Regions from separate parts of the Homo sapiens genome. Here regions 2, 3, 4 and 5 are each linked to region 1. Evidence: promoter capture Hi-C in human tissues and cell types (Jung and others, 2019). All regions are on one chromosome and are shown on one strand. The core of a region is centred on a gene start or on the middle of the fragment in contact, and the rest is flanking DNA. Distances in the headings are between cores, read along the strand shown. Region 1 holds the start of ADAMTS14 (ADAM metallopeptidase with thrombospondin type 1 motif 14). Region 2 has its middle 13 kb from the start of PCBD1. Region 3 has its middle 18 kb from the start of NODAL. Region 4 overlaps SGPL1 (sphingosine-1-phosphate lyase 1). Region 5 holds the start of PALD1 (phosphatase domain containing paladin 1).

Region 1 (6,054 bases), core at 2,112-4,611:
AGCTCACATCTGATGTCTCTGGGGCAGGGAAGAGCTGCCCAACAGGACCTTGAGGCTGCTGTGCCAGCTCACAAGGGCCTGCACACTGAGGAGGAGCAGCGAGGGGAATGAGAGCCAACCCCAGGTGGGGGCGAGAAAGACAGCCCACCCCATGGCTTTCTGGTTTGCAATGTGGAGCCAACTAGCAGAGGCGCTCCCAGACTCTGGGAAGCATTGCGGAAGCAGTGGGGGTCCTAGGAAAGGGACACACAGAGCAGCCAGGAAAGAGCAGGCTGGCTCTGGGAGGAGAGACAGGGAGGAGAAGAGGAAGGACACGACGTCGCAATGTTACAAGACATAATAGCAGCCGCTAACTGTGCCCACGCCACGAGCCAGGCAGGGACAGCCCCCAGTGCACTGCCCAGTTAGGCAGGCCATATCATTAACACTCGCGGGTCAGCTCCAGGAGAGCAGAAGCCACGTCTGTCTCAGGCACCACTGTACCCCCAGCATCTAGAACAGTAAATATGTGCAAAATAAATAAGGGAAAGAACCACAGAGAGGTTAACTCATCCAAATCCTCACAGCTAGGCAGTGGCTCAGCCACACTTCCAACCCCAGTGTCTCTCTGCACTCAGAAACACCAGCCAAACAGCTTGTGATCCAGCTGGGTCCATGGAAGGCGAGGGGTGAACATCATCCCAACTTGGCCACTTCACACCTGGCAGCGCATGAACCTAGTGGCCCGCGGGGGCAGGCGGCACTCCCTCTGGAAGGCAGCACCACCCCTGCCTTGGCCCAGACTGCAAAACATGCCCATAGCAATCTCAAAACCATGTGAGCAGGGCATGGGAGGGGGAGGATGCAGCTTAATGAAAGTCTCATCCCTTACCAATCCGTCACAGTTGCTGATGGCAACAGCTGCCCCAGGCATTCCAGTGACACCTCCAGTGTACACACACTCCTGCCGTAAGGGCTGCCGGAACAGCTCCCGAAAATCCTCCTGCCACTCCACTGAGGATCCTGGCACTACCAACCTCCGATTGGGCCGCAGGCGCAAGTGCAGTTCCTTCCCGAAAACAGTGACATTGAAGTAGAGGGAGTGGCGCCCCACCCTGCCAGGCCACAGGGTCCCTCCTGGGTGCAGAGGGCTGCGAGCCACCCGGAGGTGACTGGAGTGTCGTGGTAGTGTGGGTGGCGTGTCCACTACCATGCTCCCTGCAGAGGCTGCTGCTGGGCCAGACACCACGTGGGAGAGGAAGCGTCCCCGAAAGTCTGTGCTGCAGGGCACTGTCACACCATAGTCACTGAGCTTTCCAGAGAGGTGCAGCTCTGTTGGAGGTAAACAAAGAGTCACTTCAATGCAGTCGGTTCAGAGGTAAGGGGAAGTCAGAAATCCCACGCGGGCAGGGAGGGATAGGAACTCTCAGTGTCACCCTTAGGTGGGCCCCTTAGCCTGAGTTCACCCATTTTCCATCCATTGCTTCCTGAGCTCCAGGATTCCTACACTTGGATGAAGGGTGTTCGGGTACCTTGTGGCACTCCCTGTAGCCCCCAGGTCCTTTTTAAACTTAGCAGAAGAAAGCAAATGATACCAGACAGAGCCCGGTCACTAGCAACAAGACTTCCGACCTTGGGCTCTGCCCAGAAAAGGACTAAAATTCCCCAAAAGCCAACAGGGCAAATAAAGGGAAGGGCAGATCTGCCCAAACTCCCCAGTGTGCTGAAGTCACCAGCCCAGGCTGGGGTAGTGCCCTCCTCCCCAAACTTCCAAGAACGCAGCTGGCAAAACAAACACACCTAGAAACCCAGGGGACCATGGGCACGTGTCAAGGAGAAGGTGGGGCTGCAGAGGGGAGCGGTTCTCTATTTTTCCAAGGTTAGAAAGAAAACTTTTTACAGGAGGACAGTGGCCGCTGAGATCTCTGTATGGCCGAGCCCCAAGCTGGATAAATATAGATCTTCAAAAATAAAAGGATATACAGGGGGTGACCTGCCCACTTGGGCTGAATTAACTGTGAGGTCATGGCCCCATGCTCCAGGCCACATGCCAGCAGGCCCATCCTCACGCAGCTCTCCTTGAGCCCAGCCAGGCTGGGCAGGAATGACAGCTCCCTGGCTTCCAGGCCTGGTGATTCATGAATGCGAGTTTGGGAGGAATTTTCATTTCCACACAGCTCTACCTCTCGTCTCCCCAGTTCACGTCACTGATGAAACATAGAAAGTGGTGTTTCCTGAAAATCCCCCATGCCCACAGCTCTAGTTTCATCCCCATTATAGCAGAGGACCCCTAAGACTGCTGCAAGAGGGGACCCACTCTGGCACATGAACAAGGCTCACAAACAAGGAGGGACCCTGCCTGGAAATGACCGGTGACTCCTCCCCATGTTCAGAGCCACCAGGAGGGTACCCCATGCTGCAGGGCGGGAGTGGAGTGTATCTGGTCTGTATGCAAGAGACCTGTGTCCACAGCGTTTGACAGTGCTACGTTGGGGGCAGTGGAAGGATGTGTGTTTCTGTGCAGGAGCGTGAGTGCCCCGCATGCTCTGCTGTAGGAGGCAATCACCTGTTAGCCTTATGCTGGGTATGTAACAGCCACACACAGACACACACACACACACACCCCTTGCACCCATGCTCACACAAGTTGGAGACAGAAAAGACATTGAAAGAGAAAGACACACAGGACAGAGAAACAGATTGGGGAAGAGGGGAAAGAAGAAACACAGAGAGACAAAGAGACAGATGCGCTGCTCCCGAGAAGAGACTCGATGCTCCCAAATTCTCTCCTGGGGTCTCTGTCTACTTCTAGTACCAGAAAGGGAGAGAAATCACGGGACAGTGCCGTGGCACAGTGGAAGAAAAGACAGCAAATCAGCCCAGAGTGTGCATACTGCCTCCCACCCGCGGGAACCCTGCCCGGGTGGCTGGGGCAACCTTGGGCCACCCTGACCGCGTGCACCCCGGACCCCACGGGCCCCCGCGCGCCCAACCCGCACGCACCTGGGGTCCGGCTGCCCGCGGCGGCGCAGAGCGCACAGTGCAAAGGCAGCAGGTAGGACAGCAGCGCGCGGAGTGGAGCCATGTGGCCGCGCTGGGACGCGGGCTGGGCAAGCGCCCGATCCCCAAGTCCCAGGCTGAGGGCGGCGAGGCTAGGGTGCGCCCCGGGCTGTCGGAGCACCGGCTGGCTGCCGCCGCTGCCGCCTCAGCCGCCTCCCCGCCTAGCTGCTTCCCTCCCGCCTGCTCCGGGTCCCCTGCGCGGCGCCGCCGCCTGGACCGCTGGCTCCGGGCGCGCGAGGCTGCCGGCTGGAGAGCGGGGCCACTGACGCGCCAGCGCACCCGGTGCCAACTGCCGGCTGGTCGGTCAGCCCGCCCGCGCAGTGACGCTCCGGGACTCCGCGGGAGCCGGGCGACGGGGCGGCGGGACGGGCCGGGGGTGGGCACACTGGGCGGGGCGGGGCCGGGCGCGGGTCGGAGCTGGGGCGCCGGGCGCCCGGGGGCGGGGCGCGCGGCTGGGGAGTGCAGCTGCCTGCGGCCGGGGATCGGAAGTGCCACGCGGAGACAGAGCAGGGGTTCCTGGCGCACGGACCGATTGTCCCCTCAGACGCCTGGGATCCCCGGAGTGGTGGCCCAAAGCCGCTTTCTATGGCTGCTCCGCCCCCTTTCTTGGCCGCAGGGCCTGCTCTCTGTTTCTGTTCCAGAGCCAGGAGCCCAAGGGGTGTCCGGCTGCATTTGGGAGTGTGGTGGACAGTGAACCTCCCGGTAGAGGGAGACTCCCTCTTTCTTTCACTATGGTCTTGATGCCCTCACTAACCATCGACCCCTTGGATCTACCCATTTTCCAGACTCCAGCCCAGGGTGCACGACTGACCTGTGTCCTAGCCAAGAGCAGGGCTGAGCCGGTGAGGAGAGAGCCCTGGCTTCAGAGTCAGACAGCCCTGATTGAAATCCTAGCTCTGAGCCTCAGTTGTCTTATCTGTGAAATGGGTGTTAACTACAGCACATAATAGATGCTCAATAAGTGATAACTGCCCTCCACTTCCATCCCTGACACCAGTAGCAACTGTGGCATCCCAAGGTGGAAAGAACCAAGAGTCTGAGAGATGAGCACTTGATGCTAGTCTTGCAATGGTGTTGAGACCAGGTCAGGAGTCAGTACAAACAACCCAACAGAAGATCCATGCTCTTGCTTTACTCTGTAAATATGTAACTAATAACTTGCAAATAAACTATATTTCAAGCAATCCAGGGGTGGGAGTTGTGGAAAGGAGATTTTTTTGTAATAACCATGGAATAAAGAATCTTGGAAATGATGCCAAGGTTTTGGAGGACCAGTGCATTTAAGAAGCAGGTTCAGAAAGCTAAAGTATATTATATTCCAAGCATTCCAAGCTACATCAGAGCATCCAGTTATTTGGAAATGCCACAACCAAATTGATCTATATTAAATTCAGGAAGAATAGAGTTCCTCTTTCTCCTCTTTCTGGTCTTTTAAGATGTGTGTTGGCTGCGTGCAGTGGCTCACGCCTATAGTCCCAACACTTTGGGAGGCTGAGGCGGAAGGGTTGCTTTAGCCTGAGAGGCTGAAGCTGCAGTGAGCTGAGCTTCAGCTCACACCACTGTACCCAGCCTGGGTGACAGAGCAATACCCTGTCTCAAAAAAAAAAAAAAATGATGTGCAAAGTCAAGGTCCAGACAGGATTCTGTGTGTGAGGGATGACAGAGCAAGAAAGTTAGAGGGTGTGTGTGTGTGTGTGTGTGTGTGTGTGTGTGTGTGTGAGAGAGAGAGAGAGAGAGAGAGGAAAGAGAGAGAGAGATAGGAAAGAGAGAGAGAGAAAGAGAGAGAGAGAGAAAGAGAGAGAGAGAGAGAAGGCTGGGAGATGACCAGGCTGGAGCTTCACAGCTCTGGCCCTCTGCAAACCCAAGCCCACCAAATGATCTCTGGATAAAATGGCTTCCCTTCTCAGGGTCTCAGTTTTCCAAGCTGCAGAGTGGGAACCCTGCGGGACAGAAGGAAAAAGTCATGGCGTAAGGATTGCCCCTTTTCTGCTGTGGGGCCATCTCAGAAAGACTCCCCTAGAAAACTCAGGGGCCCCAGCTCCATTCCACCCCCTTGTTCCTGCCTCAAGGAAAGCAAGTCAAGAGGAGCAGGTCACAGCTGGGGCCCCAGCAGCCTGCTTCGCTGGAGTGGGCTGCGGCCTTCCCTGGAGCCAGCCTTGGCAAGCAGAGAGCAAAACCTCTCCCCGTTTCTTTACCCCCGCCCCCTTCCCTGGGGCTACAATGATTGCTTTTATCGGCAAGTATTGTGTGTCCAAGCTCTCTTCCATGGAGGAAGGCTTTGTTAGGAAAAGGGGACATGGGGGCCTAGCTCAGAGTCTGGGCCAGAAGGTGGGGAGAGGGCAAGGTGGCCCCAGATTTGGAGGTGAATGGGGCCAAAGGAAGAAATCCCCAGGTGTAAGCTGGGGACCCTCCTAGGAAGTCAAGGTCTGGGTTTCCCAGTGTCTTCCTTGAGTCTTCGCGCAGGAGAGAATGTCTTAGGTGTTTCTCCCAACACCCAACACAACAGTTTCAGTCTAAGGCCCTGGGGGAGAGGGATGCAGAAAGTCCGTGTTGGCTGCATGAAGCCAGCAAGCAATTGAGAAACCTGACATGGGCAAGAGAAAGTCTGAAAACCAGGTAAGGAAAGGGTAGAGAAATGTGCTCTAAATGAACATGCAAGGTCGCCAGGGGGGACCCCAGGGACTCTGGGGACTCTGGGAAGGAGAAGCTTAGAGGGAGATTTCACTGCCGTGGATCCAAGCTGAGGCTTCCACAGGGGAGACAGAGAGGAAGCAGTGTTCCTGGTTGGGAATGGCACGAGCATGGGCAGGAGGGGGCGGCCTGCCATGAGCCTCCCAGGCAGGAGGAGAAAAGGCTGGACTAGCTAGAGCCCATGGAAGGCTCCTGTGACAGGTAGGCCAGAAAGACAAAGTGGAGGTGTCTATCCCCAAAAGGTGACTGTGGCAAGAGTTTGAAACAGATGTAATGAGTGGGCTGGGGCTTGGGCAACGGCCCAGGATTTGACCCTGAGGAGCA
Region 2 (6,054 bases), core at 1,693-4,192, 230 kb before region 1:
GGGCATTTGTGAGGATTAATTAAGACTGTGTGCAGAGTGTCTGGCACTTGGTAAGCTTTCCACACCTCCTCCCTCCACAGCTCAGGCTTAGCTAAGTCCACGTCCCCACTGCTTCTCCCCCAGACCCTCATCAAAGTTTCCTGCTGACGCCCTGCCTCACCCCTTCTCCCCCAGCTTCCTCCTCCACTCCCTGCCAGGGCAACCCTCCTGCAATGCCAATCTGAACCTGGCCATTCCTGGGCTTGAAATCTGTCAGTCCTGGTATGGCATGAAGTGAAAGAATGACATGCATAGGCTGGGCGCGGTGGCTCACGCCTGTAATCCCAGCACTTTGGGAGGCCGAGGCGGGAGGATCACGAGGTCAGGAGATCAAGACCATCCTGGCTAACGTGGTGAAACCCCGTCTGTACTAAAAATACAAAAAATTAGCCGGGGGTAGTAGCAGGTGCCTGTAGTCCCAGCTACTCGTGAGGCGTGAACCTGGGAGGTGGAGCTTGCAGTGAGCCGATATTGTGCCACTGCACTCCAGCCTGGGTGACAGAGAGAGACTCCATCTCAAAAAAAAAAAACAAGAAAAAACAATGGTGTGCACATTGTTCAGGTGTTATCATAGTAGTGCAAGCCTGTGTTTTTAAAGAGTCTCTCATTTTTAGAGATATACACTGAAATATTTAAATATAAAATGCTATGTGATTTGCTTCAGAATAATCTGAGGGTGGGAAGGAGTGGGCGGCCGAGACCAGCCTGGAAACTTCCTGGTGGAGCTGGCTGGTGCGTCTGTGGGGATCGTTATGCCAGTCTCCCTTCTTTGGTATGTTTAACAATTTCTATCTATAAAAGGTTTGTACAAATGTGGAGGGAGAATGGATGAGAAGCTGGTAGATCTCTGTTGGTGCCAGGTGCTGGGTACATGGGGGTCCATGAACTCTTCTCTGTACTTGGTGCCTATTTGATAGTTTTCATAAGAAATTTTTTTTTTGTTTTTTAAAAAGGAAATTCTGTCTGTTCTCCCTGCTGCACCAGAATGGAGTTCATGCATGTGGCTCCAGGGCCCCCCACGAGCCATGGCCAGTCACCCCAGCCCCTTGCACCCTGTGCTCTAGGATCCAGGACATAGCCAGCAACCAGACATGCCCGCGGTCACACCTCCATGCCGCTTGCTGTGCCCCCTCAGAGTGGCACACCTCACAACCCTGTCAGCCGAGAAGGCAACTTCTTCTCTTGCTTCAGCTTAAGAGTTGCCTCCTCTAGGGAGCTGGTCCTCATTTTCCTCCGGCCTCCCCCTAGGCAGAGCTGCCCACTGCCTCCTTGAAACCCCCACAATCCCTTCGGCCTGGGACACTGCGGACACAGGCTGCAAGGGGTGGGGCTCGTCTTAGTGCACCCAGGTCCCAGCACGGGGCCTGAAGCTCAGTACCTGTCCACTGAGGATTGAAAGGTCTCACCTAACTCAGGACTGAACCTTGACTGAGCCCCCCACAGAATGGGTCTCGTTTCCTGAGGTGGCCCTGCCCCCTTCTGGTGGACAGAAGTGTTGCAGGGAAGGCGGAAAGCAAGTTGGGCCAAGTCCAAGTCTACTTCCTTCATGGAGCAGAGCTGGGAACTGGGCTCCCCAGGGGAACCTACACAGAACCATGCAGAGCCTGTCGCCATGAGCCTCTCCAACCTCTTCAGTGCTCTCAGGTCTTCACTTAGAGGAGCACGCCACAACCTCGCAGACTGGCTGGCCTTTGCTCAGCCACCTTCTCTGCCCGGGTGCCCATCCGGGTCATCCCCCCCGCCCAATCTTGCCTCTGCCTGGCCAGCTCCTAATGAATCTTCAAGCTTACTCTAAGCACCCCCTCCAATGTGAGTGCTTCCCATGTGTAGAGTTGTTGTCACTCCACTGCAGCCTGGCCTCACGGCCTCTGTTAGAGCACTTGTCACCTGTAGCATTGGTGTGATCATCTCCTTCCCTAGATCAGAAGGTCCCTGAGAGAAGACACTGGTTCTCAGCATGGCAGGGACACACTAAGAACTGAAGTCATGTGTTGAGTCTCTACCACTATTGCCAAAAGCTCCTTCTGCCCTTCTCTGACGGGAAGGCAGTCTGGCCCATCAGAGAGGAAGAGGTGGCAGGTTCTGCCTCCCTAAGGAGGAAACTGGAACTTACCATTTCTGATGTCTAGACCTGTGCTGCCCAATAGGGTAGCCACTAGTGACTTGTGGCCACTAAGAACCTGAAATATGCCCTGTGACTGAGGAATTTATTTTGATATTTTATTTAATTTCAATTCATTTTAATTTACATTTAAACACTGATAAACAATTTGACATGTAAATCTACTTTTTCAACCATAAATTTTACGAAAAATAAATGCGGATCAAGTGTTTCCAATAAAAATTTAGTGTTCAAATTAAGGTGTGCCATAGGGTAAAATACATAGTGGATTCTGAAGACTTATATGAAAAAAGAGAATGTAACAGCTCAATTTTATATCAATTACTTGTTGAAATCATAACATTTTGGATATATTGGGATTAAATAACATGCAGTAAATTAAAAGCAATTTCATATATTTCTCTTTACTCTTTAAGAATGTAGCTATCTGGCCAGTCGCGGTGGCTCATGCCTGTAATCCCAGCACTTTGGGAGGCCAAGGTGGGTGGATCACCTGAGGTCGGGAGTTCGGGACCAGCCTGACCAACATGGAGAAACCCTGTCTCTACTAAAAATACAAAATTAGCCAGGGCTGGTGGCGCATGCCTGTAATCCCAGCTACTCAGGAGGCCTAGGCAGGAGAATCGCTGGAATGCAGGAGGCGGAGGTTGCAGTGAGCCGAGATTGTGTCATTGCACCTCAGCCTGGGAACAAGAGTGAAACTCCATGTCAAAAAAAAAAAGTAGCTATCGGGAAGTGTAAACTCACATGCGGAGCCTGCATTTGTGGTTCCCATTATATTTCTATTGGCCAGTGCTACAGTGGACCAGGGCCCCACCCTCAGGACTATTGGTATTTGGGGCTGAACAGCTCTTCCTTGTGAGGGGCTGTCCCATGCACTATAGGATGTTCAGCAGCTTCCTTGGTTGGCACTCACTAGATGACAGCAGCACTGCCATCCCCAGTGTGACAACCAAACCTTGCCAACTGTCCCCTGGGGGAAAAAATTCACTACCACCCTGATGGAAAGCCACCACTCTGGGCCCTTCTGATGGGCAATCATCACAGCCCCCTGTGAGAGATGGGTGGAAACAGCCGGGGGTGCAGGGAGGGGACCAGCAGCCCTGGGCAGTTCTGTGGGCCCAGGAAGGGGACCAGAGGGGCCAGTTTCAAGGTTCATGAGGCAGGAGCCTGACCCTGCTGTCCTGATCTACGGGCTGTGGGGCAGATGCCCTGGGAGAACTGCCGAGAGGGCCCCTGAGGAGCAGTCTTGGTTGCCGAGGGATAGGGGCCCTCCCTGGGGGCACCTGCATAGAAGGCTGGCAGCTCAGGGAGCTGCCACCCCTGGGCAGGAGCCTGGGAGACTTTCCCTGAGCAGAAGCACAACAGGACCTGATGGCGGCACCCTGCGCGGCAAAGGCAAGGACAGCAGTGGGGAGAGGCGGCGTGGCTCTGGGTTCCTTGAGAGTGGAAGCCCTCCTTTGGGATCGGGCAAACCCTAGGGTTCATGAACCACTTAGGGAGGTGGGGTAGGAGGCGGGGTAGCCCCCCAAGTGTAGATTGTATATCCAGCCCATGGCGGGGCACGGGGGTTCTACCACATTCTAGTCTGAGGCGATTTAAGTAACATCATTTGCATCCCAAGGGTGTGGAGCACTTATCTCTGCAGCAATCATCGTGATCTCTCCCTCCCCACCTTCCCAGAACCTGACACAGCTTGGCAGGTAGAAACCAAAGTATAGTTGAGGAAGGAAAGGAAGGAGGGAGGGAAGGAAGGGAACTTGGCTTTGGTCGTTATGCAACTGGGAGATAGTGCATGAAGCAGACAGGCACCGGAATTGTGAATGTTAGAAGCTTAGAATGGGAAAGGATCTAAAGGCTGTCTTGTCCAAAGCTCTGAACCATATGCACGGCAGTCTCTACAGCAGCCCTAACAGGATCCGTGGATTCAATAGCGGCCATCAGGACTGCGGAGCTCCTTGCCCCTTCCCTGGAGGCCCATCCTGTGTGCGACAGCATGACTGGTTCAAAGTTTTTCTAATCCATTGACAAATATTAGAACTAAATAGAGAGTTTATCAGCATGACTGGAGACAAGATACCACATCAAAATCCACACTTCTCCTATATACCTGCAAAGGCCAATTAGAAATGTAATGAAGCAATCATCCCGTGCATAGCAGCCAACGCTGACTATAAAACACCTAAGAATAAACTGAACAAGACATGTCCAAGTCCTGCATGAGGAACACAGTAAAACTTTACTGAAGGGCATAGAGAAGGCCTGAATAAATGGGGTGATATATCACACTCCAAGATGGAAAGACCCGATAATATGAAGATGTCAATTCTTCCCAAATTAAATCTATAAATTCAATGCATTCACAATCAGAATCCTAAAGGGATTTTTATGGAACTTGACAAGCTGATTTTCAAGCTCATCTGAAAGAGTAAACAAGCAGGAATAGGCAAGAACATTTTGAAGAAGAAAAATGAGATTGGACTTGATGTACCAGATATCAAAATGAACTATAAAGCTAGAGAAATTAAAACAGGATGGAGTCGGTGGATCAAAGGAACAGAACAAAGAACCCAGAAACCAAGCTATGGGGATTATGGGAAATTAGTATATTACAAAAGTAGCATTTCCAATCAGTGGCGAAAGGATGGCCTATTCTTTGTATTTAAAAAATAGTATGAGATTATTGTTTATCTATTTGGAAATAAAATAATTGTTACTTTTCTTATTCTTATTATTTCTCACATCATAGCCAAAAGTAAATTCCAAAGAGATTAACAAATCTTTTACCAACTTTTTACCAACTGAAAAAGTACTAAGAGGCAATAGAGACACAGCTATTTGTTAATCTTGAGGTGAGAAAGTCCTTCCTAAGCAAGACATAAGTCTAGAAACTGTAAAGGAAAAGTCAGGCAGACTGGGCTATCTAAGAACTAAACATTTCTTTATGTCACTAAGCTAAAAAGTAAATGAGATTCGGAGAAAATATTTACAACATAGATAATCAACAAAGGGTTGTAATTCTACAAACCAATAACAAAAGGACAACCTTGAATTAAGAAAAAAAAAAACAGCAGGTTAGATGGGGAGGGAGGAGAGCCGAGTAAGCAAGCACGAACGAGCAGGTTATCACTCAGTCCTGCTGGGGACCCTCGGAGCGACGGTGTAAACACACCAGAATCCTTCCACCAAGGGATAAGGAAGTGGATACGTATCCACCAACCCCCATCCTACATTGGTTGAGAGTAGGGTATTAACTCCCTGTCATCTGCAGCCTGTCCAGCTTGTGGGCAGAGCATCTTCGATGGGCAGGGAGCCTCCCCAGGCAGAGAGGGCAAAGTCTTGCTCTTGAAGGTCATGTTCAGGGTGGGGTTGAGAGGATACAGGGGGCACTGCCAGACACTCAACATGAAATGTCTCATTTAATCATTACAACCTCCCACAAGGCTGCTATTGTTATTATCCCCATTTTACAGTTGAGGACACTGATATTGCAAAAGGTTAAGTAACTTGCTCAAGATCCCACAATTAAGCAAGCAGAAGAGCCAGACCTCAGGGCAGACGCTGCCTCCAGAGGCTGTGGTGACCTCCGCCTGGCGACCTGGGGTGGGTACAGAGCGGGGTGGCAGAGGGGATTTTTACCTTTCTCTTTATACCAACCATATGGGCCCACCCTTTTTTTTCTTTCTTTTTTTACTATCAGCACATGCTCCTTCTATGATTTGAAACAAAGCTTTTACAAACCTTTTTAGATCCTTAGCGTGGGACCTGGCAAAAGATTATACTACATAAATGTTAGCGTTTCAGGGTTGTCACTGTTGAACAATATTTCTTGAATACAGTTTACATGGTGCTGAGTAGCTATCTCAGCTCCCCGCAGAAATACACAAACATGA
Region 3 (6,054 bases), core at 1,114-3,613, 210 kb after region 1:
CACCAGAAAAAAAAGACTTTTCATGTATTTCCTCATTCAAGTCTCACAACAATCCTATGAGGCACGTAGTATTCCCACTTTACAGGGGAGGCATAGATTAGTTAAGAAACTCGCCTAAGCCTCACAACTAGGAAGCCCCAGAGCCGGGAGTAGAACCCAGGAATGGGGCTCCAAAGCCTTAATGTTAACTTCCAGGAGCAGTCTCTCCACTGACTGAGTCACTCAGTTTCCCTACTAGTCATTTGTTTTCTGAGCTCTGCGCAAGCAAGGAAAAAGAGACAGGTGAGATCAGGTCTCTGGCTTGAGTTGCCCCTAGTCCCCTTGTAGGACATGCAGGTAGATAATCATGATGCCAAGCCGAGGGTGGTGGCTCACACCTGCAGTCCCAGCACTATGGGAAGCTGAGGTGGGCGGATCGCTCAAGGTCAGGAGTTTGAGACCAGCCTGGGCAACATGGTGAAACTCCATCTCTACAAATAATACAAAAATACGCTGGGCATGATTGCACATGCCTGTAGTCCCAGCTACTCGGGAGCCTGAGGTGGGAGGATGGCTTGAGCCAGGGAGGTTGAGGCTGCAATTAGTCATGATTGTGCCATTGCACTCCAGCCTGGGTGACAGAGCGAGACCCTGCCTCAAAAATGAAAACAAAAACAAAAAACAAAAAAATCACAATGCCAAGTCGTAAATCTCAAAAAAGCAAGTGCCAAGGGCTTTCTGGGACTGAAGACAAAAGAGGGCATGGCCTGGCTCCCACATCTGCCATGTGGATCTCAAGTGGGGGCCCCGGGATTTGCATAGGAGCTGTTCTGGAATCTGAGGACTGCTATGGGTACCCATCTACAGAGGTGAAGCTCTGGTCTGGGAGGCCATCTGCTGGACAGATGGCAGCAGGACAACTTTGGCAGCTGGGCCTCCACACCTTTCCTTCACACGTGTTTCCTGGGTGCTGACTGTGTGCCTGGCACTGTGCTAGGCACGGGAGAGGCAGAGCAACACAGACAGTAAACCAGACAGCCCTGTGGAGCTTGCCATCTGGTGGGGGTGGCAGACATTAACCCATAGCCCCAGAAATAAAGACATAATTCCAGCTGACAGTAAGTACTTGGGGTACTCCTAGGGAGTGTGACAGGGGTTCGTGGGGAAGGCCTCTCCAAGGAGGTCATCCCTTAAGCTAAGACTTGAAGGCTAATTAGATGTGTGCCAGGCAAAGAGTGGGAGAAAGGGCATTCCAGCCAGAGGAGACAGCAGGGGCAAAGGCCCTGCAATGGGAACACTCACATCACACTCTAGAAGCGGAAAGAAGGCTGCTGCAGCTGCACAGCAATGAGCCAGAGGGCTGAGGCCCGCAGGCCGGGGTTCTGGAGCTTGTATTTTCTTTTATTTTTTTTTGAGACGAAGTTTTGCTCTTGTTGCTCAGGCTGGAGTGCAATGACACGATCTCAGCTCACTGCAACCTCTGCCTCTTGGGTTCAAGTGATTCTCCTGCCTCAGCCTCCCAAGTAGCTGGGATTACAGGCGCATGCCACCACGCCCGGCTAATTTTTGTATTTTTAGTAGAGACGGGGTTCTCCACGTTGGCCAGGCTGGTCTTGAACTCTTGACCTCAGGTGATCCGCCCGCCTCGGCCTCCCAAAGTGCTGAGATTACAGGCGTGAGCCACCTGGCCCGGCCTGGAGCTTGTATTTCATCCTACAGGCAATGAGAGGCACTGAAGGGTTTCAGTGAGGGGAGTGATGCCATCCCATCTAGCTCCTGAGAGGAGTGGATTCTGGGGGGCCAGGGTGGAGGCAGGGAGGCCTCCACAGTTGTCCAGGAGAGAGATGATGGTGGCTGGGACCAGGTGGTGACAGAAGAGATGGGGAGGAGCAGGTGGATTCTAGAGAGCCATTTTGGAAGTGGGATCCACATGGCTGGTATGAGGTTGGATGTTGTGGTGTTGAGGGAGGAAGGAATCAGGAATCAGGGGCTTGGCTGCAGACAGAACGCTGGAGAAGGCGCAGAGGAGTTCAGTCTTGATGAATGGAGCCGGAGATGACTGTGAGGGAGCCCACGGGAGACGCACGGTAGGCCGGTGGGTGCAGGGGTCCAGAGTTCTGAGGACTGGTCTGGGGTAGACAAAGGCCGGGCACCATGGGCATTGGTGGCTTTTAAGCCCCAGGATGGGTGAGACCCTCCAGGAGAGGCAAGTAACCGCAGGGGAGAAGAGAAGTCGAAGCACAGCCTTGGAGGGCGGGCTTCGAGGGGAGGGGAGGCCTGGGGCAGGGGGAAGAGGCTCAGAAGACAAAGAGGACTGAGCAGGGGCCCAGACGGCGGAAGGGAAGCTTAGCCGCACGAAAGCTAAGAGGTGGGGAGCATTTCAATCGTGTCAAAGGCTGCTGTGCGGCCAGGCAGGGCTGGAGCCAATTTGGTAACACGGAGTCTCTCCTATACAACCCAAGCCAGGGCAGACGCCATGGTGGGTGGAGGCAGGAGGCACACAATGGAACCGGGTGAAGGGTGACCGTGAAGCGGGGAGTGTAGGCACCACGGACAACTGCTGTGGAGAAGGTGCGGCAGCTGGAGGGGAGAGGGCTGGCTGTGAAGATGAGGGCACAGGGCAGAGTGGCGTTCACCTATGGGGTGGCTGAGGGGGAGTACGTGGGGGAACGGAGGACAGGCAGGGCTCCGAGCTTTCCAGCCTCTGTTCCTTCCACTTTCACCTTGTGTCTGCAGTTACCCCATAATAACCACCCCTAACTCAGATGAGGACAGCTGAGTCCCAGAGAAGATCCCAACGTCACAAGGCGGGGGCTCTGCCTAAGCTGGCTCCGCGCACAGCAGGCTGTTTGGAGTCTGCCAAGACTCATGCAAAGGTCATGTGGGCCCCTTGACCAAATCTGGACGTCCTTCCCTCCATGCCAGGTTGGCACTGCCCAGCCCCAGCAACCCCCCCATCCCCACCCATCCGAGGCAGTGCCACAGAGGACAGCAGACAGACCAGGCACGGTCAGAGAGATCCATTTTGAAGGGGCTTGACCCTCCTACTGTCGCGGGAGGGGGCTTTTAAAGGAAAAGAACACAAAAATACAAATGCAAAAATTAGGTCCGGGCCTTGCAAGGGTCTGAAACTTAAGCTTCAATTAGCCTCAGGGCAGCTCCGCCTCTGACTGCAGTGACCTTGAAGAAGTGACTTCACCTCTCCGAGCCCCGGTTCCTCATCTGAAAAGGGAGCCGTCAGTATAGTGCCAGCGGGAGGGCTAACTGAGGTAACTGTGCAAAATGTTTATCACAAAGCAGCGTCCCAGTGAGCGATGGACAAACGGTGGCAGTGGCTCTTATAAACCGGGCTCCCTGGGGCTTGGAGTGGGGTGGGGTGGGATGGGGGAAGGGTGAAGCAGTGGGTGGGCGGATGGCGGGGGATAAAGGTGGGGGAGCCGCTCTCTCCCTGAGCCCAGGAACAGCAGTAATCCCTTGGTTTAGCAGTGCAGCACCGCGGTAAGGCGGTGATGGTGTGCGGGGCCCATCCTGACTCTCCTGCCCACGCACCAGGCCTCGCCTGGCACCAAATGGGGGCCCCCCGCGTTTGGTGGCGCCCCACAATTTACCAAGCAGGCACATCCCACCCTTCCCACCAGCAGCAACAGAATGAGGCCACTGGACAGAAGCCCAGCGAGGGGACGGGACAGATGGGAGGGGACACATCCCGCTGAGGGCAGAGCCCTGGGTAACCCCCACCCCGCCCGACCACAGGGCCTGGGCAGGAGCTCGCGCCGGAGCGTCTCTGTCTCACTAGGCTCTTGTCCCGGCCCCGGCGGCGGGACCGGCAGTGCGGGGAACAGGGGAGAGGGGCGGGTCCCCCTTGGCGGCGACAACGCCACCCGCCCGGCGGGAACACTCACTGCCGCCTCCAGCCTCGGTCTTCTTGCTCCGCAGCCCGTCTGCTCTTCGGCTGACTCACCCGGGTCGCCCTCCGCGCGCTTTCCCACGAGGGCGGGCGCCTGGGCCTCTGCCTCCAGCCCAGCCGGCCGGCCTGGCGCGCTCACCTCACCGGGCTCCGTAGGTCCTGCCATGCCTGGGGCCTCCGCTGAGCGCCTGGGCTGTGCCAGGCGCCCGGCCAGGCGCGGCGGGGCGGGCGGGACTGGGCACCGCGCCGCACAGACCACTATGCCCCTTCGCTGCAAACAAGATTGCGAAGCTAGAGGCAGGCAGGCAGGCACGCCGACTCCAAGTCCAGTGCTCTTTTCCTCTGCCTCAGCCTCCTCCTGCTGACAGCAATCAAGAAAAGTACCCTTTCCAGCCTCATTTATTAAGCATCTATTACGTACACCGGGCACTGAGTGAAAGGGTCCAGAGGGGGCTTCTGTCCCCTGGAAGCTCACAGTCTAAGAGAAGGTGGATAACAGGGAACACGGTGTAAGGACCCTGAGAGAGGCTGACTGGGCTGGAGAAATCCTCCAGGCTGGCTTCCTGGAGGAGGAAGCCTAAAGAATTAAGCAACTTTTTTTTTTTTAGGCGGAGTCTCCCTCTGTCGCCCACGCTGGAGAGCAGTAGCGAGAACTCGGCTCACTGCAACCTCCGCCTCCCGGGTTCAAGCGATTCTCCTGCCTCAGTCTTCTGAGTAGCTGGGATTACAGGTGTCTGCCACCACATTCGGCTAATTATTGTATTGTCAGTAGAGACGAGGTTTCACCATGTTGGCCAGGCTGGTCTCGAACTCCTGGGCTCAAACAATCTGCCTGCCTTGGCCTCCCAAAGTGCTGAGATTACAGACATGAGCCACCACACCCAGCCAACGTTTATTTTTAAATGGTAGTGGAGAGGATGCTTTATGGCCCGGAAAGATGTTCTGGTTTCATAAAAGAAGTAGTTTACAGAACAGTTCACATTGTGTGAATCTTCTAAGTGCACATAAATGCATGTGCACATAAATACCTAAGTGCAGGGGACAGGAAGAATGTACCCCCAAAATATTAACCATGGTTATATCTAGATCATGGGGTTACAGGGGATTTTTCTCTTCCTGTATATACCGTTATATAGTCTGCAAATTTTCTACAGCGAATAGGCATTCATTTTGTGTTTAAAAAGCACAATACGGGATGGGCACGGTGGCTCACGCCTGTAATCCCAGCACTTTGGGAGGCCGAGGCGGGTGAATCACCTGAGATCAGGAGTTCAAGACCAGACCAGCCTGGCCAACATGGTGAAACCCTGTCTCTACTAAAAATACAAAAATTAGCCGGTGTGGTGGCAGGCGCCTGTAATCCCAGCTACTTGGGGGGCTGAGGCAGGAGAATCGGTTGAACTCAGGAAGTGGAGTTTGCAGTGAGCCGAGACCGCGTCATTGCACTCCAGCCTGGGCAACAAGAGTGAAACTCCATCTGAAAACAAAAAAAAAAAACAAAAAAAGCACAATAGCACAATACATAAGAACTAAGCAGGCAGGGGAGGGGGGCAGGGGGGTGTGTGGGAATTGGCTGCATTTCATCAAAGAGTGGGTAGAGGAGAGGGAGAAGAAACTGTACAGGCCCTGAATGTTAGGAGACACTTCCACCCGCTGGCCTCAGAGCTCCACCAAGCATAGGACAGTCAAGTGCGGCGACAGGGCTAGGAATCATCCTAGATGTGGAAACTGAGGCTCAATAAGGTCATGTGCTGGTCAGGGTTGAGCTGGGAGCAGGACCTAGGTGTGCTGCCCCCCATACCCCAGCCTAACTGGTACTAATTTAAACAACCCTCCTGCTCCCCCACCTCTGCCCTCAGGGAGTTTCCTTGGCTGCACTTTCCCATCAAGGACGATTTTCCCAGCAGGGTGGGTCCCTCCAAATTTTTGTTACTGACCCCACCATCCCTGATGGGGCAGCTCAGGACCTGAGGCAGGTACAGGCAGAGAAAGGGTATGTGACCTTAGATCTTCCAGTGGGGAAGGAAAGGTCGGACAGGGACAGAGAGGACAGAAAAACGGAGCTGAGGGGTGGGGTGGGAGGGCAGGAGTAGGCAAGAATAGGCTGGGAAGGTTGGGCTGGAAGCTCCCCTGGGAGGGAGGCTGGTGTGGCCAAGACAGGAGCTGGG
Region 4 (6,054 bases), core at 3,550-6,049, 200 kb before region 1:
TAAGTGTCTCTACCCACCTCTGCTACAGAGTAGCTGCTATATGCACACATACACAAAAATACACAATGAAAAGCCTACAAAAGTGTTAAGTCAAACTAAGGCTCTTAATTGTAAATTAAAGTGGCTACAGTAGGTCCCTTTGAAAAACACCATCTCCCCTGGCACCAATGTTGTCACAGCACAGAGGAAGCGAGTGGCTCGGGGTCTGGTTCTGGGGAGACGCTCTACAGGGGCACATGCTTCTCCATCTTGGCAGCTGGCAAGCCACAGTGGTGTCTGCTGGGTGGCTCTGGGTTCCTGGACCTCATTCAACATAATGCACTGACCAAACAGCTCTGACCACAGCTACTCTCAAAGAGGTGCCTGCCAGGTCTCCCTCTGACACACACACATACACACACTACCCACTCTTGGAACCCACAATGCACTGCTGGGCAAACAGGAAAAACACACACACACACACACACACACATAAATGCCACACCAGCCCTGAATGGCGTGGCCAGCTAGTCACAGTTGTTGGGTCAGTAGTACAGTGCTCAAGAACAATTCAGACTAACATGCCAAGGAGCCTGAGGAAAAGTCTGGTAGTCATGGCTCTCCCAGCCAGCATTCCCAGTGGGGGAAACTAGAAGACACCAGCCTGGAGAGGCTGAATATTCAGGAGTCCCTGAGATGGGGAATGGAACAGAGGAAAGTGTCTTTTGACTCATCTTAAGTACTCCCCTCCCCAAATAGAAACCTCAAAGACTGATCCATTTCCCCTAGGGCCTGGGCCAGGAGTAGCTCACTGCTCACTGCTGAGGAGAAAGGCACAAGATATAATGTCATAAGAGCAGGACAGTGGCTCAGCCTACAGAGTTCCCTATAGGGGAAAGAAGGCAGGAAATAGGCGCAGGGTCTGGTCCTGTCCCTGCACCACCCTGAGCAGCTAGTCTTGGGAAGGGATTACAGGCCCTGGGCCATAGGCTGCTCGCCATTCTGCTTTCCTATCCTGTTTCTCTCCCTGTGCTGCTCCCTTTTAGCCAGGGCTGAGAAATGTTCAGCACCTGAGGCAAAACTGCCATAGTACCTCTGAAAGCTGAATCAAGGGGGAAGAGGCAGAAGAACACACTAATAGAGAAAATTTTCCTTGCTACGGGTGCTCTTTCACACCCACCTAGGGTAAGTCAAGGCAACTTGTGAAGGTGCTTTGAGCTGTTCCTTCAAGCAAACACATTTTCATTACATAATGGCTTAACGCAAGGGTGCAGGGAAGGACCACCACCAACTTTGGTGACATATTTGAATCTGGGTGTTCATCCTACTCTGATATTCAAAAAAGCATAGAAAAAGGTCTGATTTCTGCTCATCACCAGCCCAGGATAGGGTTCAGGTGTGCTCTGACCACTGCCAATTCAGGAAGGCGGCACCATGGCCAAAAGCTCCCAGATTATTTGGAAACCATGTTTTCTTCCTAGTCCATGGTAACAAGAAAAAGCCAATGGAAGCATCATTCCAAACAATAATCTCCAAAGATGGTGGCAACCAAGTGTCAAATGGGGACTGCAGGCACAGAAGAGACCACCCCAAACCCTGCCTGGGTGGACGAAGCAGGTATGCTAGAATAGTCCTGTCCTGCAGAATAGGGAACGGCAGCTTGGTCGATCTGTGCCCTGGAAAAAGAAAATGAGTTGCAATAGAAGTGACTCTAAGACAGACAATGAACCTACTCTTAAGAGAGACAGGGCCAGGCACGGTGGCTCACGCCTGTAATCCCAGCACTTTGGGAGGCTGAGGCGGGGGGGCGGGTATCACCTGAGGTCAGGAGTTCAAGACCAGCCTGGCCAACACGGTGAACCCGTCTCTACTGAAAAAGAAAATTGAAAAATTAGCCAGGCGTGGTGGTGGGTGCCGGTAATCCCAGCTACTCGGGAGGCTGAGGCAGAAGAATCGCTTGAACCCAGTGGGTGGAGGTTGCAGTGAGCTGAGATCATGCCACTGCACTCCAGACTGGGCAAAAGAGCAAAATTCCATCTCAAAAAAAAAAAAAAAAAAAAAAAAGAGAGAGAAGGCTGAAAAAGCCTCCTGCTTAGAGTATACCTCACACCCAGCTGAGGAAACATCTGTTATGTAAACGCCTCCTGCCTGAGATAACAAAGAAGCTCTAGCTATCTCATAAACTGTACCCCAGCTTCTCTAAAGAATCAGGACAGGTCAGAGCTACCACACAATGTTTAAGTAAAGTTGAAAGCTAGAGAGTTTAGAAAAGGAAATGGTTAAAACAATTCCTAGGGTAACATTTATAACAAGGGCAAAATCATTATGTAATGGAATTCTCTGGGGTCTTCAAATTAAAAACCACAAAAGGAAGATAAGAGGAAGAACAAGAATCCTGAGGCTCAAGCTGTCTCATGGTCTATCTTGAGTTGTGCTCTATGGAGCAAGACCAGATGTCAAAGTTGTGCACGGCCTGTTCCATATCCCAAGAACCTTCTGAAGGCTGGAATCCCCTTGAGACTAGAAAGGGTCCAAGTTCAGTGGGGTTTTGGAGAACCATTCATCTGGCTGCCCTGGGTGACAGTGTCGGTGCTGTACAAGCTGTCCAAGAAGACTGAGGACAATTCTGCAACCATATTCCTGTCAACAGTTGTCTGGGCCATGCCATAGATGGCACCCTACAAATCCAAAGAAAGAGACATTATTAGTGAGGCCAGGTCCAAAAGCAAGAATAAAACTGCAGCAATGAGCCCCTTCTCCCCGAGTCCTAGCTTCGCATGTGCACTGCCCTACCCCATTTCCACCTAAGGCATCCCATCATTCTATCAGAAAAACAGCTGGCATAGTCAATTTTTCACAGGGACTTTCCAGTCTGCCTTTCTGCATAAAGGGACTAGCCTAAGAAAATTCCAGAAAAAACATGTTTACTATCTTTCCTGTGACAAAATTTTCTTTTCAAATGGACACTACCACCAGCTGCTTTTATACAGAAGTCTCTAACTTACAAGGTACTTTATAGTGTATCTCATTTGAGACTTCAGCAACCCTAAGGGGTGGGTGATGCAGAGATCATCAGCTCCAGTCAACAAATAAAAGATGTCTGTGGCAAAGGGGCAGAGGCAGGAACAGACTCCGGGTCATATGATTCCTTCAAACTCTCCACCAACACCTAAATTTCCAAGAGAAGAAAAAAAACTCCAAGTGTCCCTACCATTCCTGTGGTCTTCGCTTTAGGATTCTTCATGATTTGAGTGACAGATTCTCGAATGTCCTTTAGGAATTGTATAGCTACTCGTTTCCGGGCGTGTAGTAATGTGATGCAGAAATGAATACTAGGAAAGAAGAGACAGAGAGAGATGAACCTTGAAGAAAGAAAAAATGTTCTAAAATGATGCAGCCCCAAATACGGGAATTTCCTGGTTGCCCTTTCACAATATTTCTGACAAGTGTAGTCATCCAAGTTGTTCCTAGTCCTGGGAATCTCGGCTCTCTCATGCTTGGGGTGTCAGGCATGGGCTGGCCTCAGAGCTTCTCGGCATGACTGAGAACCATGCTAAGAGGATGAACAGTGTTGGCTGCTTTGTCCCACCCATCCCCTCACAAATTCCACCACCATTCCTTCAACCACGTCACCATCAATGAGACACTTTTATCTTAGATAATCAGCCCCCATGTGCTCTCATGGGGACAGGGCCACATGGCTGGGGTCTTAAAGGACTTCAGGGCACAGAAGAAATTCTACCTCGCCCTGGAGGAATTTAGTGGGGTTTACTGGAATTGTGAAGAGGGAAAAAGATAGTCCAGATGGGACTGGCAATGCACCAACGTGTGGAAGGCTAAGCTGTACACAGAGGACATGAACAGACCTGTACTCAGTTGGAGTGGTGCATTTACTCAAAGGCATCATGGAAGATTAGGTTAGAAAAGTCTAATAAAGAAGGCAGTAGCAGGCCTGAATGATTAGAGACCCCCAGGAAGATCTTGAACTAAATATTAGCCAGGTAACAAGTATTTTATAAGAGCAATTTGATGGCTGTGTACAAGATGGATTGGAGAGTAGAAAGGCTAGAGACTGAGAGAAAAACCTCATGACCAACCACTGGTCTAGGAGGCTGTCACCTAATTCTGCCAGAGTTTAAAGCTAATGGTCTTGTTCTTTGTATCTAATAATTCCAGGTGGCAAGAGAGAAATCCTTTATATACTACAGTTGCTACTAACGTGCTAGCCTCTAGCAGTCAAACTCTATACTTCAGGTTACTGTACCACCCAAGTTCTTCCAAAATCATGGAGCAAAATAAGGGAAAGAGGCTTCTTCAAGCTTACCTGGGTGGGAACTGCAACTGGTTCAAGTTCCACCCCTTAGCAGTCATCAGGTTTGATAGTCGGTAGATGTCAAAATCACGGGATCCCAGAGCAATGACTGACAATTGGGGATTCCCAAAAACAAAGATGCCTTTGATATTTTCCAGTCTTAAAACAAAAAAATAAATGAAGGAAGAAAAAGTAAATTCAGTCACATACAATCCCCTGGTCACTATCTCTTTAATCATTCAAAGTCTTCCTTATAATGAATGCAATCTAACCCTTTGGGCTTTAGTCTTCTCATCTTCAAAAAAGAAGAGGGCTACACTGGATCAGTGGTTCTTACTGAGATCAGAATCATAGATGGAACAATAAAAATGGAATTCCAAGGCCCAAACCCCATCTAGATCTAATGACTCAATCACTGACTTCGAACCTGTCTACCCAACTCCCAATTATATTCCCCTAGATGCTTCTGAGGCATGAAAGATGTACTAAAAAAATTTCTGGAAAAGTAATCTGCCCATCTCCACAGTTCTAAAAAGTCATATGTAATCCCTAAAGCAAGAAATGGTATAGCAGGTCTTAATAAATGGCCCTATCAGAGCTATAGGAGGACCTTTTATATATATCTAATTTTTATTTATTTGTTTGCTTATTTATTTGAGACAGGGTCTTGCTCTGTCACCCAGGCTAGAGTGCAGTGGTGTGATCATAGCTCACTGTAACCTCAAATTCCTGGGCTGTTCAAGCAGTCCTCTTGCCTTAAGCCTCCTGTGTAGCTGGGACCAAAGGTGCACACCACCACATGTGGCTAATTTTTATTTTTATTTATTTTTTATTTTTGAGATGGAGTTTCGTTCTTGTTGCCCAGGCTTGAGTGCAATGGTGCCATCTCAACTCACCGCAACCTCTGCCTCCCGGGTTCAAGCAATTCTCCTGCCTCAGCCTCCTGAGTAGCTGGGATTACAGGCATGCGCCACCACGCCCGGCTAATTTTGTATTTTTAGTAGAGACGGGGTTCTCCCTGTTGGTCAGGCTGGTCTTGAACTCTGGACCTCAGGTGATCCACCCGCCTCAGCCTCCCAAAGTGCTGGGATTACAGGGATGAGTCACCGCGCCCGGCCTCATGGCTAATTTTTAAATTTGTTGTAGAGATAATGTCTCACTATGTTGCTCCGGTTGGTCTTTAATTCCTGAGCTGAAGCGATCCTTTTGCCTTGGCCTCCCAAAGTGCTGGGATTACAGGCCGGAGCCACCGTGCCTGGCCAAGGATCTTTCTCAAATGAGAAATGCCTGCAGGCAGCTTTCCTTCCCCCTCAATATACTTAAAGAGCCTCCCCAATCCAAGTGACACATAGAGAGATGGGCAGATAAGATGTTAACAGATACATTAGACAAAGCATGCAGCCTGTTCTGGCCTTGGCTTAACCCAAGATTTCATTGCCCTCCTTTCCTCATTCCTTCTGGCCCATTTCCAATTATTTTCTTATTCCAATGATTCTTCAAGTATGATTCCTGGAGCAGTAGCATCAGTATCTCCAGAAATGGAAATTTTTAGAGCCCATCCCAGTTCCACTGAATCAGAAACTCTAGGGGTGGGCCCAGCTACCTGTGTTTTAACAAGTCCTTCAGGTGATTAGAATGCATGCTCAAGTTTGGGAATCACTGTCCTAACCATTAAATTGTACATTAGCCTTAGGGTAAGAGCTGCCAGTTATTAAGACATCCATAGAGATGAGATAAACTACAAATGAGGCCCCCGTCTCAAA
Region 5 (6,054 bases), core at 3,555-6,054, 190 kb after region 1:
CCTCCCATGGGCCCCAGCCCAGCCTGTTGGCCGTTTCCCAGGGTACCCACAGCCCTCACAGCACCACATCCTCTCTCCTTGGGGAATTTCTGAAAGCCCCAGCTCCCTGGGAGCCCAAAGCATTGGCAGTGACACACCCAGTTCCCAAAGATGTTCTCTACTGCCTTCCATGGGTGTGCAGATGACCCAGACACCCCACCTGCCTCTCTCATCAGTGCCCCAGCTTCAGCCCAGGCAGGGGCACCCCTTAAAGCCAAAGTCAGCCCACATGCCAGTTATGGGAAATACACAAAACGCTTCACAAGGGCTGTCACACCTCTGCCACGCTGCTCTTTCTGCTGGGGAAGCCTTGCCCTCCTCCTTTGCAAACTCCTGGCCATCCCTCAAAGCCCACGTGAAGTATCACACACACCCCAGGCCAGCCATTCCCTCCCTCAGGCTCCAACCATAACTAGCACAGACCCCATCACAGAACCAGACATGGTGTCTGCATGTACCTCACTCACCTCCTGGCAGGGACAGAGTTTAATCTACCTTCGGAGCCCCTGCACCTCATACTGAACCCAGGGCCAAGAAAGCTCAGGAACCCACATCAAGATGCCACGCTGGTCCCTTCCCACCAACTGGTCCTGTGCAAGCATCCTGGCCTCTGCTGAGAGAATAACATCGTGGTAATAACATAAGCACCTAATGTTTACTGAGTACTTCCTAGGAGCCAGACAGCCTCGGAGGCTCTCTGCGATTACCTCCTTTCATCCTTGTGACATTCTCATAAGGGAGTTGCTATCCTTAACCCTGTTACACAAGGGACTTGAGGCACAGAGAGGTTAAGTTTCTTGCCCTGGGCCACATGGCTAATGAGGGAGGGAGCAGAAATTCAGACCCTGGTAGTTTCTTTCCAGAGCCAGTGTTCTTAATCACAACAGGTCTATTTGCAGGTAGGAAGATGGTCGAGGCAGATGTGTCAGGAAAAGCCCTGAGTGGAAAAGGAACTCAGGGATTATAAAGGCCAGTGCTTCCAGACCTTCTCTTTCCCCGGGTCCCAGCCAAAGGCCTCGGAAGACAAACAGAGCCTCCTCCCAGACTAAGCCTGCTGCTCCCAGGCTCAATCCTGTGCTGAGCACCAGTTACAGGAAACATAAAAAGTCCATCTGCAAGTGCCTTGGCCCAAGACAGGGGCAGCACATGGCTGGGCTGCCCTCTGGGAAACGAAAGCCATGATTTGGGACTATTCTTAGCAAACACTGGCTCCCCTCCCAGAGGCCCAGCAGTCAGCAGGCCCAAGCTTCCATACGCCCGCCCAGCCTGCCATTTCCTGACCCCGTGTATGGAGGTCCCACAGGGCTAAGGAGGGACTAGTGGGCACCGACTGAGGACAAAGCCCTCCAGCTTTCACAGGAGAGGTGCCTGGCCCACCCAGCCTGCTCCAGACCTCACCCAGAGGCCCAGGGCCATGCACCTGGCTGCTGAGGAAGCCCTGCAGAGTCCTGGCCACAGGGGATGGCTCATAATCAAAGGCCCCCACCGCCACATCAACTGAGCACTCACTCCATGCCATGCACTGGGCCACATGCTTTGCACTGATTTTCTCCCACTGAACCCACAAGGAGGTAGAGGTTACTGACCCCACTCTAAAGATGAGGAAACCAATACATTAATTGACTTGCTGGAGGTTGCATGGTGCATTAGTATCAAAGCATATCTAGAATCTGGGCTGTCTCTCAGGTGCCAGGTTGGGCAGAGGAGACCTGAGCATAGCCAGGTGGGGGACCCCTTCCCTGTGCAAGCCCACGGCTTAGCAGAGAAGGAGCCCGCCCCAGAGGGCAGTGGCTCTCATCACAGACGCAGCTACATGTGTGCTCTCTCTCTCACCTGGGGGATCCCTGTCAAAGACCCGCAGGCTTGGGTTCAGAAGGAGAATCCCCAGACAGTTCCTCTCCTATTCTGGTAGGAAAGGAACAGTTGGAGCACCCTACCCAGGCCACACAGCCTCACTTCAGGAAGCCTCTGGAGATCCAGGGAAGATGAGAATCAAAATTCAAAGAGCACCTGCTGGCACTTAAGGCACAAACACAGCCTTGTAATGCAGAGGTGGAGAGGCCAAATGACTCTGAGTAAAACACAGGAGACTGAGCTTTTTGGGGTCCTCAAACCCCAAAGTGAGAGTCTAGAAATAAGCTCCACCACAGAGCACCTGTACCATCACCACCCCAAACAGGACAACTTCCGGGCACTGTGCCACGCAGGGAAACAGTGATAACCAGGCAATGCACGCCTCGGCCTACCTCTCAGAACCCACCTGTGTCTGGTTCCTGGCCTCTGCTGTCCGCTGGCTCTGGCAAGCATATGTGTCTGTGCCCCCCAGGAGCTCACAGCCAACTCCATTCTGCCCAGGCACTTGAGCGGCTTCCCTGTGGCTCCGAGTCTTTTGTCTGGGAATGTCGGTTCCCATCCCCGTCTGTGCTCTGCTGGGTCTACCTATATGTCTGTCCACTTACATGTCTGCCTCCCATGTGGGGAGATTCAGATCCCAGCAATGGTGTATTTCTATGTACGTGTCTGCAGCCCATACGTGGCCCACGCTGATGGGTTCATGTATGTCTGTCCCCGCACATGTCTGTGTCCCTGGGTTGTTTGCTCACCCCCACCATCCTCCTGTGTCTGTCCTCAAGTATATATGTATCCAGCTCCTCTACGTCTCTGCCCACACAGATGTAAACCTGAGCACACACACGCACTCACGTCTCTGCCCACACGGGGCATCCCCCACAGGTGCCTGGGTAACCCAGGTCTGTGCACCACCTGTTTGGAGGCAGGCAAGTGTGTTCACACAAGTTCTCACAGTGCCAGCCAAGGGCTTCGGGTGAGCTCAGCAACTCCCACTCCCAGAACTGCACCCAAGGCCACGAGCATGAGCACACTGCCACCTCCACGAAGTGCTCCAGAAAAACAGAAACCTGCCAGGGACAATGAGGGAGGGGGCAGGGCCCCAGATACAGCAGAGCCTCACAGAAGTGAGGTCAGAGCTGTGCCAGGAACCACCCACCTCAAGCCACCTGGGCCCTACTGTGCCCACCCCCAACACTGGCCAGGAAAGGGAGGGGGGTGCATGCACCACCTGGGGTCTGTCTGCACTCATAGGAAACTGGCCCAGTGCCTGCCAGCCTCCCGACCTACCCCAACCCCCCGCGACAGAGGCTCTTCAGAAAGGAAGTGAGGACTTCCTCCTGCTTACCTCTGAACCTCCTACAAGGCTGGCTCTAGACCCCAAACCCCAGGAGCCACAGGGCAACTAGGAGTGTCCTGTGCTCAGCCCAAGCCAAGAAACCAAATGGGTTATTTCAGAAATCCACCAGCAGGAAACAAACAAACCTGGGAGTGGGTGGGGATGAGTGCAGGAGAACCTCCTCAGCGCCCCTGCTGCTCCCTGCCCTTGGAGCAAGGTAATAAGGAAGGGCGGGCATGGAGCTGGAACATTTCAGCACATTTGCTTGCTTGCATGGAACTGGATCTCTGCTGCCCTGGCACTCTCGCAGCCTACATTACTCACATAGCAATTAATGGTGTGTAGCCTCTTGGCTTTCCACTATTACCAGTTCAGGACTGGTATTGAAACCCTGTATCGGGGAACTTTGTGTGTTTATGTCCTGTCTTGCCCCCAGGGGCTGAGCCTCCTGAGGACAGAATCCTCCAAATCCTCCTCCATCCACACATTCCAGGGGCACGGCCCAGTGCCCTTCCTGGCATTTAAGAGGTGCTCGGCCACTGGGTTCAGGTTACTCTACCCAGAAGCCAAGGAGTTGGTTCCTGGGCCTCTGGCTGGGAGAGTAGAGATGCCCAGAAGATTCCCTGGGCCATGAAGCTTTACTCCCATCTCTGACAACCCAAGAGAAAGGGCTCCAACCATCCCGGCCACCTTCAGGAGCCGGGTCTCCCATAGGCCACTCTCTCTCTGACAGGTTACTGCCCCTTCAGGAAAACCCTCTGAAACTGAAAAACGTACTCTCCTTGGAGACCCGGGCCTACAGAGGAAGAGGGCCAGACTGGGCCAAGAATCAAAGCCTGTGCCCGCTGAGACTTCTGGACTCGTCCTGGGTCTGAGGGCCTCACGCCCCCTAGAGATGAGTCCCAGGACCCCATCTCGGTCATGAAGCGGCTTCCCTCTCCCCAATCTCCCCCTAACTTCGCGGGAAACCCTAGCTCCTGGCCATGCTCCCAGGTCTGGCAATGAAAAGTGGAATTGTCACCAGGCCATGCCTACACCAAACCCAGGGAACTCGGGAGAGGGGGTAGCCCAGGGTCCAACACACACAACCACCCAGCAACTGCTCCCTGTGAGTCCCTCTTGCCTCCCAGGGACCAATCCTGAGCGGGTGTGGGGTGAAGGCCCAGGACCTCACCTCTCCAAAGGATGGGGAGTTGGTGTCTGGAGCAGCCTCGGGCTGGGGGGTGCCCGGGGGATTCCAGATTTGCCCTCCCCTCGCCAGCCCCAGGGCAGGACACTTCGGTACCTGCCAGCCCGCGGCTCCGGGGGGCATCCGTGCTCCTGCGGCCGGCGTGCTGCGCCCGAACTGCGGGCGCCGAGTCAGGCAGCGACGGGGCGCGCCCGGCGCGCGCTCTGGCTCCAGCTCGCTCCTCCCAACTTCGCCAGCCCATGCGGGGGCAGAGGTGGCTCCGGAGGTGGGCAGGCCAGGCGGACCCGGCGAGGCCACGCGAGAGGGAGCCCGTGCTCACCGGCGACGGGACCTGCGCGCCCCGGCCCGTGCGCGCCGCGCTGCTCCCCAGCGCCCCGCTACCCAACGCCGAGGGGCGGACCCGACCCGGCCGCCAATCACCGCGCCCGCCCCCGCCCGGACCGCGAGTCCCGGCCCCACCGCGAGGGGCGGGGGGCTCAGATTTAAAGACACACTCAGCCCAGCCGCAGCCCCCGGGCGGGAGGAACGCGGGCGCCACGTTCCCCGGCTGCGCTTCCTCCCTCCGCCCGCCCACCCTCCGCGAGGAGGAAAAGTTTGGGGCGGGGGAGACTGCCCGGGAAGCCAGTTCCTCTTCCCTCGTCGCTAGTGCGGCTCCTTCTGGAAGACACCCAAACCCGACATCCAGCCTCCTGGCTGCGAGAGGCAGCAGCGCTCTGGGCGCCACACCCCGTCCCGGACGCCGGCTACCCGCGACACCCGCTGGCCCGGCTTCCCTCGCCCCCCTCTGCTTTACAGCCAGGCCGAGCCTCGGCGGGACCGAGCCCAGCATCCGGGCTCCGGGCCGGCCTCGCTGTGCAGTGCGGCCGGAGCTGGATGATGGTGCGCTCTGCACTTTTGCCTCCCACGTGTCGAAGGGGAGCCCCTAAACAGCAGACGGTCCCCCCAAGCAGGGGCTTCTCCCACGCCCCGGGGTCCTAAGGAAACGCGCCCCTCGGCCCCCAGAGGTGAGAGGGGAACAGCAGAGCAGAGCTTTGGATGGAGAGGGGTCCCTCCGCCCCCACCCATCATGCGGCTCCAGGCAGTGACCCGCACCATAGGCCTGCCCCCCCCACCACTCCTCACCCCACACGCGCGGACTAGCACTAGGCGGCAGCCAGCCCGGCCCACTCCGACGGCCCCGCACGCCCCCGCGAGCACGTGGGTGAACGCACCCACGTGCGTGCGTTCACTCTTCGCTGTGCTTCCTCGCGGAGAGATAGGCTTTGTTGTGGTTGGTGAGTCACTTCCTCCCTCTCGCTGCTCCACACTCGGGAAATCCTTTTTTCTCACCTGTTACCACCTGCCTCACCCCCATTCAGGACTGGAGCTGGATTTCGGCGAGCTGGGGTTGCCCCAGGATGCAGGCAGTGTAGGCCCCACCTCTGTCAGGCTGGAGAGCGCTGGGCTGGGAGAGGGGAACACATTCCCCATGACCCCTAAGAATAACTGAAGACAAGAGAAATCACTCATTGTGGTGGTCTCACCATGTCCCTAGCACCTAGCTCTTAAGTGCCTCGCGAAGTTATAAGGTCGGTACTTTTCTGATCCCTATTTTAACAAATGAGGAAACAGGCCCAGGGAAGACTTGTCCTCAGCTCCA

What was found. The method cuts DNA at HindIII sites, captures the fragments that hold promoters and counts their contacts. A contact is called where the count stands out against the background at its distance.
Region 2: a contact is called between a fragment that was not itself captured here and the fragment with the promoter of ADAMTS14 in region 1, in 2 of the 25 tissues and cell types used here (psoas muscle and spleen).
Region 3: a contact is called between a fragment that was not itself captured here and the fragment with the promoter of ADAMTS14 in region 1, in 2 of the 25 tissues and cell types used here (adrenal gland and lymphoblastoid cells).
Region 4: a contact is called between a fragment that was not itself captured here and the fragment with the promoter of ADAMTS14 in region 1, in 2 of the 25 tissues and cell types used here (heart right ventricle and thymus).
Region 5: the fragment with the promoter of PALD1 here is called in contact with the fragment with the promoter of ADAMTS14 in region 1 in 5 of the 25 tissues and cell types used here (heart left ventricle, liver, mesenchymal stem cells and 2 more).

What each region holds. Positions count from the first base shown.
Region 1 is chr10:70,669,813-70,675,866 of GRCh38, reverse strand. It overlaps ADAMTS14 (ADAM metallopeptidase with thrombospondin type 1 motif 14), which reads right to left and starts at 3,361. Exons shown (of 22, transcript NM_080722.4): 1 at 2,983-3,361; 2 at 872-1,311. The coding sequence starts at 3,064. RefSeq lists a silencer at 4,480-4,774. The HindIII fragment of the contact is 21,684 bases long and covers 1-6,054 here.
Region 2 is chr10:70,898,954-70,905,007 of GRCh38, reverse strand. No RefSeq gene overlaps it. Among named protein-coding and RNA genes, the nearest start is that of PCBD1, 13 kb to the right of the region's middle. RefSeq lists an enhancer at 846-1,394. The HindIII fragment of the contact is 4,003 bases long and covers 941-4,943 here.
Region 3 is chr10:70,456,394-70,462,447 of GRCh38, reverse strand. It overlaps a transcript of PALD1 not described here. Among named protein-coding and RNA genes, the nearest start is that of NODAL, 18 kb to the right of the region's middle. The HindIII fragment of the contact is 6,583 bases long and covers 1-5,654 here.
Region 4 is chr10:70,873,798-70,879,851 of GRCh38, reverse strand. It overlaps SGPL1 (sphingosine-1-phosphate lyase 1), which reads right to left. Exons shown (of 15, transcript NM_003901.4): 13 at 4,304-4,450; 14 at 3,191-3,311; 15 at 1-2,657. The coding sequence ends at 2,517. Among named protein-coding and RNA genes, the nearest start is that of PCBD1, 12 kb to the left of the region's middle. The HindIII fragment of the contact is 9,714 bases long and covers 1-6,054 here.
Region 5 is chr10:70,477,517-70,483,570 of GRCh38, reverse strand. It overlaps PALD1 (phosphatase domain containing paladin 1), which reads right to left and starts at 4,804. Exons shown (of 20, transcript NM_014431.3): 1 at 4,512-4,804. RefSeq lists enhancers at 149-696, 2,190-2,831, 3,009-3,188, 2,832-3,474 and silencers at 4,469-4,918, 5,119-5,188. The HindIII fragment of the contact is 10,532 bases long and covers 2,575-6,054 here.